Regions from separate parts of the Homo sapiens genome. Here region 1 is linked to region 2. Evidence: promoter capture Hi-C in human tissues and cell types (Jung and others, 2019). All regions are on one chromosome and are shown on one strand. Each heading gives the region's core, a stretch centred on a gene start or on the middle of the fragment in contact. The rest is flanking DNA. Distances are from core to core; before and after follow the strand shown. Region 1 overlaps LOC107986638 (a long non-coding RNA gene). Region 2 holds the start of HS3ST5 (heparan sulfate-glucosamine 3-sulfotransferase 5).

Region 1 (3,917 bases), core at 1,199-3,698, 54 kb before region 2:
TTTATTTCTCATAAAAATAAAACTGAATTATAGAAGCTACTATGTTAACTATAGCTTTTAGCACCTCTGTTTATCATTGTAATCAAATTATATTGAAAGCCAATGAAAACTTAATAGTTACACTTATTTTGTTGACCCTTACTATATGTCAAGAAAATGGGACAATGCAATCTTTATTTGCAGGCTAAAATCATTTTAAAATTTTCATGAAGAAAATAAAATAAAAAGTACAAAATGCCAAATTATCCAAATAGAACATAGTTCACCTCATTCAGTTAAATAGTTTCTTTTAACGCAAAAGATTAAAAGATATGGAAGACAAAGAAAAGTGAATGGAGGCAAAAGAAAAAGAGAGGGAGAAGAAGGAGGAAGAAGGAAAAGGAGAAGGAGAAAGACAGCACTCTCTCTTCAGGCCATTTTCAAACTGAGTCACTTGGTTTGCTTTTAGCCAGAAAAAGATTCTGTATTTTCCTGTCAAACTTTGAAAATCAATCTGTATTTTCAATATTTATCAATATTGGTTCATATAACTTTTTCGTAAAACTTGTAACGAAAAAGAAAATGAGACCCCATTGTTTTTTTTTTTAAGGTTTTCTTTTCTTTTTTTTTAAATTATACTTTAAGTTTTAGGGTACATGTGCACAATGTGCATGTTTGTTACATATGTATACATGTGCCATGTTGGTGTGCTGCACCCATTAACTCGTCATTTAACATTAGGTATTCTTGATTCAATTCCTAAATGACCAAAGAGCAAGTGCTGCTTTGATGTTGCTGGGCTCTGTTGATTTTCCTGTCTGTATCAGCTTGCATCATCAGTAATGTCCTTAGAGCTCTGAATCTTGTTTTCATGTGTCTCTGCCTCCCAGGTGAGATGTTAATACAAACAGTAAACTAAGCACATGCAATTCGTAAGAAGAGCCACAACTCACAGCCTTCTAGTCTCTTTTGGTCAAGCAAAAAAAAAAAAAAAAAAAAAAATGAACAGACTCTAAAACCCAAGAAGCAAATGATTGAAATAACGAGAGAACAGCAAATGAACGTCAGCTGTGATGATTAGAGAATGGGTGTGGGCTCAACTTCTAAATGTGTAAGAAAGAGATGTGTGAGAAAGAATTGAGAATTATACCACTTGGTAGGAAGTCAACGCAATTATATTCGGTGAAAAAACAAAAATCTCTACGCACAAAATAATGATGAACCAAAAGACGCAGTGGACTCTGCAAGACAAGTTAAGTATATTAGTTTATTGTAATTCCATTTGCTGTTTTTAGAGTAGGAACTGGCTATTGAGTGGACTGAAGATGGTGGGGGGCAGAAGAGCAAAATAAAGAAAAAAGACATATGGAAGAATGAAAAGAAGGAAGGAAGGAATTATGAAGTCAGTTTTTTAACTCACAGCCAAGAAAGGCCAGAAGCTCTTACTAGAATTTATAAAGCAAAAAATTAAAATTGTAAATATCTTCTGACAAAGAGAATCTATATGACTTGCTGATATAAGGGAATCAGTTTGTATCTTTATTCAACGAAAAGTTGTATACTCATGTCACAACCTTATTTAAATATATACAGACTTATGAGAATGTGTGTTAAATGAGTTTGCCCAAAGGGGGTTTGGATTATAATCCCAAAAGACACAATCCTAAATGCCATAATCCCAAATGTTGAAATCTCAAAAGATCAAAATTTCTAAAGTCTAAAATCCCCAATGTCTAAAATCTTGAAATTCACAGTCACAGAATAGTTGCATTATGTTAGGTAGAGCTATTAACTTGTTATTGTCTTTATTTGGAAATTAAGTATGGTTTAAGGCAAGGGTGTCCAATCTTTTGGCTTCCCTGGGCCACATTAAAAGAAGAAGAACTGCCTTGGGCCACATATAAAATACACTAACACTAACGACAGCTGATGAGATTTTTTTAAAAATCACAAAAATTCTCATAATGTTTTAAGAAAGCTTATCAATTTGCATTGGGCTACATTCAAAGCCATCCTGGGCCTCATGTGGCCCATGGGCCATAGGTTGGACAAGCTTGGTTTAAGGGGTTATATATGAGTGCTAAATTGACAGTGCGCCAACCTGTGGACTTAATTTTAGGTGTCAAGTTGACTGGATTAAAGAATGCCTAGAAACCTGGTAAAGCATTATTTTGCATGTGTCTGTGAAGGTATTTCCAGAAGAGATTAGGGTGTGAATCTGAGTGGACTAGGCAGGGAAGACCTGCCCTCAAAGTTGGTAGGCATTATTCAATCAGACAGGGACCTGGAGAGAACAAATGCTGAGGGTAAATTGGTCTCTCTCTGATAACTGAAAATACTTTTTACTATTATTATTATTATTATTATTATTATTTTTGAGACAGAGTCCAACTGTGTCACCCACAGGCTGGAGTGCAGTGGCGTGATCTCAGCTCACTGCAACCTCTGCCTCCCAGGTTCAAGTGATTCTCCTGCCTCAGCCTCCCAAGTAGCTGGGACTACAGGCACGTGTCCCCACACCTGGCTAATTTTTGTATTTTTAGTAGAGATGGGGTTTTGCCATGTTGGCTAGGCTGGTCTCAAACTTCTGACCTCAGGTGATCCACCCACCTCAGCCTCCCAAACTGAAAAGACTTTTATTCTGCCGCCTTGGACATCAGAATTCTAGGTTTGCTGACTTTTGGACTCCAGGACCTCCACCAGCTGTTTCTTGGGTCCTGAAGCTTTTGACCTCAGATTGAAACTTACACCAGCTTCCTGGGTTCTGAGGTTACTAGACTTAGACTGAGCCACACTACCAGCATCTCAGGGTCTCCAACTTGTAGACGACCTGTGCTATGACTTCTCAGCCACCATAAAGATGTTAGCCAATTCTTCTAAAAATCCCCTCTTGTGTATCTATATACATATCCTATTGATTGAGTCTCTCTGAAGATCCGTTACTAATACACACTTGGCGTTGAGGAAGCCAAGTATCATTCCTGCTACTGTATTCCTTACAACACAGTGGAAGAGATCTGTGAAATTGTTCCCTCACAAAAAGGCTGTGATAAGTTAAGTGTATGAGGCTTCTTAATAGTGAAAGATAAAAGTTTAAAAGCTAATTATTATTGGTGCTGCAAAAGCTGAAAATCCCTTAATTGCAAAGGCCAAGCAATAATCAGACTTTCAGATGGACTGCATATACTTACAAAATTTGTAGACCACAACCACTGTCCAAATACAGATCACAGAAGTAAAAACACAGATGAAAAATACAAGAAGTCCTCCAAGCCAAATTATCCAATCACATATAACTTCTACCTCTTCACACATAGCGCCAATTTGTTATGCTATGTATTTCATCTTCACATCATATCCCATATTAGAGATCTAAATTGTGTGGAGACTTTTAGAGAGTTCTAATTTGTTTTATGCTGCAAATTTGATTCCATTGAAGTGCATTATCACAATGTTGACTTTATGTATAAGCACTGCACATTTATATAGAAATGTTGAAATTTCCTCACTAAATGAAGAAATGTCCTTTTTGTAGATCTGCATTTGTGAAAGATACAATTTCTTGAGATCTTGACTCTTTGGGTGATTACATTTGTGACAGTATCTCATCATGGTTTTCCAACAGTCTCGCCAAGACAAGATTTATGTTGTCTGTCATTATGTTTCATATGACCAAAGTTATAAAGCTAGACACACGTAATTACCAACTATAGTATATATTTCACTTTTGACCTATTTATATGAATACAACTTGACTGCTTATAACTGTTATACCCATGCAACTGTCATTAGTATGCCAAAGTGTTAATGCTTGCAAAAATATGCATGTTATTATTGCCTATTTTCTTATGTAAAATGGCCTAGGAAGTGTTTTGTTGTGTTTTTATGTTTCTCAAATAAATCTCCTTTTAAAAGTGTAAATACAATTTTTTAAACTT
Region 2 (3,917 bases), core at 1,178-3,677:
TTAGTTTTATTTGTTTAATTTACCACAATACCAAAATGTTTCTTAAAATGTTAGACCACACCCACCCACCTCCACACTTCACCTAGCAGAAAATCCAGGTCATCTGTAGAAGTTGAAAAGCAACACAAAAAAGCTCATGCACCTTCATCTAATCCTCCAACCCTGGGCAAGGTAAAAGCTCTTTCCAGAGCATTGCATCCCAGTTTTTGGAACCGTACCTGCTCCCAACCCCAGGTGTGACCCTGTAGCAGGTAGGCAAAATTACTGTGACAATCTCACAATCCATCAGCTACAGAGCAAAGGATCCTCTGAGGAGAAGTTAGGATTGCTGAGAAAGCACAGGCTGCTGAGCATTCCTCTCCTGCCAGACATAAACCTGATGCAAGACAGAATTATGAGAAACCAGATTCAGCTCACCCATCCTCCTTCTCAGTCATCTTCCAGGCACAAAAGAAAGACTGAATACCAATCAAAAGATAATATAAATAAACCTTTTAAATAAAGTTTACTAATTGAAAGGACTAATAGATGGAGTGATGCATTCTTCAAAATCTATTGTCATGCTTTTGTGGACTTTATTGCTTATCAGCATTTTTCCCCTCAAGAAAAAAAAACAGAACAGCAACATTTGTTCAGAAAAAAAACAAACCATGTTTCTTCCTTTCTTATTACTTTTATTGTTTGAGGTTTCTTTTAGACTATAATGTGGCATTGTGATTTTAAGATGGGAAAAAAAAATCTCTTGTCTTTCAAACATAGGAATGTGATTGTATGCTATTGTTGCCAACAATGAGCTAAAGAGGTTAATGGATCACATATCTGGCAAACAGCCATCTTTCCTCCTGCTCAATATATTACACAGTATACATTTTATTGTTGCTGCTGAGCATATGATTTTGTCTGAGTAGTTGGTAAATAAGTTTAGACTTAACTGGTCTCTTTCTAAAACTCAACAGCTTTGTCATTCAGGCTATATCCTGAGATTTAAAAAGTGCAGTTTCGGTTCTTAGCTCATGACCTTTTGAGGTGATGGTAAGAGTGGTGGGAGGAAGGAGGTGGGGCGGGCTGTTGAATGAGAATCTAGAAATATTGTGCCTTGTAAATTGCATCCGACCTTTCATTTTCAGATTGCCTAAATTAACAGAGTGAAATTACCATAATAAAAAGGAATGGGTACTGGAGAAAGTACAGCAATTCTTTCTAGTGTTGTTTCCCAGATTCCTTCCAAAATACCTCTAATTAAATGGACCAACTCTCTCCACTGACCTCAGGTTGACACAAATTTGCATTCTGCGACTGTCATTTGAAAACAGACAAGCCGTCATAAGCAATAATGCTGTGATTTCTTGCCTAAAGGACTTTTCTGTGTACTGCATTTGTACTATGAAATGTAAGCAAGAGACTTAATGCCTCTACAGATAAAAAGGGAGGAAAGATTTTCATTTTTAGGGAACCCCAGAGGGAAAAAGTTTATCAATGAGAAATACAATGTTCTGGATAATTTTGGTTGGGTAGGAATGTATGTTGAGGGAGGGGACTAGAGTTGGGAGAGAGGAAGCAACACATCAGTCTCCTTGGAGCAGTAGAGTCCTTTCAGTCCGGTAAAGAGCACAGTAAGTAGCAGGTAGAATCAGCTCCTGGCCTGTTGTTTTGCTGGGGGCAAAGGGTTGGAGGAACACAGACTAAATTGGGAAGGCTAGTGTGCCTCTCGGCTTTTGGACTTGGGACCTGAAAGAAGGCTGAGTCCTGAGCTCCGCTTCCCAGCTAGGCGGTGATCGCCCCCTGTGACTCCGGATGCACACAGCAGCCCCAAGCACGCCGCGGCCGCCGCCCGACCCTTCACCGCCTCCGGCTCTCCCGCCTGGCACTCTGGAGCCACACACACCAGCTTCCTGGACACCTGTGTGCCCCAAGCTCTGGGTCTAGGCATCCCCCTCACCCCAGAGAGACCGGTCTCAGCGCCTCAGCAATTGGGTCCCTCCGACCTCTGTGTCCCCGAGTTCTGCCACCCTGGTCACCTCCGCAGGTTCCCCAAGCTGCGACCTCAGTCCAACTGGGAGCCCTGCGCGCCCACCCGGCAGCCCCACTGCGCTGCTCGCCCGCGGTTCCAGCGCCTGGGTGGGACGCGCAGTGGCTCAGCTGCGGGACCTCCGCCTCCGGGTAAATCCTCCTCCTCCCCTTTCTCCGCCTAAGGCCCTGCCCTCCCCCTGCAGCAAGCCGCTCCGGTGCGTGCGCCCGTCTCTCCGCCGAAGACACCTGCGCTTCCTTCCCCACCCTCCTCCTCCTCCCTTTCGCTGCGGTTTCTCCGCTGCCTTTGGGAGCTCGGGAGCGGCAGCTGGAGGAGGAGCACGGGGAGGAGGGGAAGGCGAGGAGGAGTAGGGGCGGGGTGGGTGGGGAGAGAGCCGGGAGGGTGTGGACTGGCAGCCACTCTGCAGCTGGTCGCCAGGGACCCGGTCCCTCCTGCGCGCCCAAGTGATGGAGGGGAAGAGATTCGCTTAGACACACACACGCGCACACAGCTGGGCACGTCTCCGGGAGGCAGCTGCCGGCTCGGGCGCTCTGGGGGCCGGGCGGCGGCCGTGACAGCGCCAGCCGCGGGGAGCGGGGCGCCCGCACAGCTTGGCACCGGAGGCTCGAGGACGCAGGAAGGGAAGATCCCAGTCACACTGAGTGTTGCTCTTTTGGGCGGATTGGGAGGGAGCGGGCTGCCCGAGGAGCTGTCACCGAGGACGCCCGAAGTCTCGCCCTCTGCGCGCAGGGTCCGGGGCTGCGCCGGTGCCCTCGTGGGGCAAGGAGGATGCGCACCTCCCCCCGCAGAGCGGCTGCGGTCTCCGGCACTGCGCGGACTCCGGCTCCTGCGGCCGCCCGTGCCGTGCCCGCGCCACGGGAGCGCGCCCTGCCGCACCTGGTTCCAGCCTCTCGGGGAAGTGCAGGAAACGCGCCCTAAACTCCACTACTTCTCGCCCGCCTGCCCCCCCGCCCGGCTCCCCGCCTCAGACCTCGCCGCCGCCGCCGCCGCCGCCGCCGCCTGCGTGTGGGGCCCGCTCGCGTCTTACTCACACGCGCCACGCACAGCCCTGTTGGTTTGCTCTCATTCACGCCGACTCGCTCTCCGCCGAGCCTAGCCCGGGCATCCGAAACTACTGGACCAACTGCCGTCCGGACCGCAGCAGCGGCCGGGTGACCCCCACGCGACCCGCCGCCGACCCCCGCGCCCTGAGGCTCCCGCCCGCGCCGCCACCGCCGGGGACCACGGTGAGCAAGGCGCGCTGCCCGCCTCGCGCGGGGGAGGGGCTTTGAGACCTCTAGATTTGGGGGGAAATGAGAAGGGGCAAATCGCCAAAGGGAAGCATCCGGGTGATGCCAGCAAAAAAGCACTTTGTGGGGTTCGGTTCTCCTGGGCGCTGCCTGGGGAAGACTTTTGAGAGGTTTGCTTAGGACCAGAGGTTAAACTAGTGCGAGATGAGAAACGGCGGGGGCAATTCCTGGGGTAAAATTAGACAGAAGGTGTCAGTCAGCCTGCCTGTCTGTTTCTCTCTCAGTCTCTCCCAGAGCGCTGGGTAGCGCTCTCTTTGAGGGAGAAAGGGAACACGCGTTTACTGCGCTCGCCAGAGTTTAGGGGTTCGCGTTCGGTCACTTCTGGGGTGGCTGTGGAGCTGTTTGGAGCGCGAGGGCAGCTTTGGGACAGTGGGGGCCTGCGAGGCCCCAGCAGAGGACAGGCAGAGGGCAGGCAAAGAACAGGCAAAGGCTAAGTTAACATGTGGGTGGGGTTTTCTCTTCCCAGCTGGCCCCCCCCACACCCCTCACAGCCCCACTTTATGCATCTCTTCCCACCCAACACACACGCGCGCGCGCGCGCGGGATGGATGCAGTCGAAGGGTGGTCATACTGTTACTACAAACAAGTCTGAGAGGTCG

Evidence for each region. The method cuts DNA at HindIII sites, captures the fragments that hold promoters and counts their contacts. A contact is called where the count stands out against the background at its distance.
Region 1: a fragment that was not itself captured here is called in contact with the fragment with the promoter of HS3ST5 in region 2 in 1 of the 25 tissues and cell types used here (aorta).

Annotation. Positions count from the first base shown.
Region 1 is chr6:114,395,576-114,399,492 of GRCh38, reverse strand. The region is part of intron 3 of LOC107986638 (a long non-coding RNA gene); the gene reads right to left. Among named protein-coding and RNA genes, the nearest start is that of HS3ST5, 55 kb to the right of the region's middle. RefSeq lists a silencer at 654-948. The HindIII fragment of the contact is 3,500 bases long and covers 699-3,917 here.
Region 2 is chr6:114,341,533-114,345,449 of GRCh38, reverse strand. HS3ST5 (heparan sulfate-glucosamine 3-sulfotransferase 5) reads left to right here and starts at 2,427. Exons shown (of 5, transcript NM_153612.4): 1 at 2,427-3,255. It overlaps LOC107986638 (a long non-coding RNA gene), which reads right to left and starts at 3,125. Exons shown (of 8, transcript XR_002956366.2): 1 at 3,061-3,125. The HindIII fragment of the contact is 10,455 bases long and covers 1-3,917 here.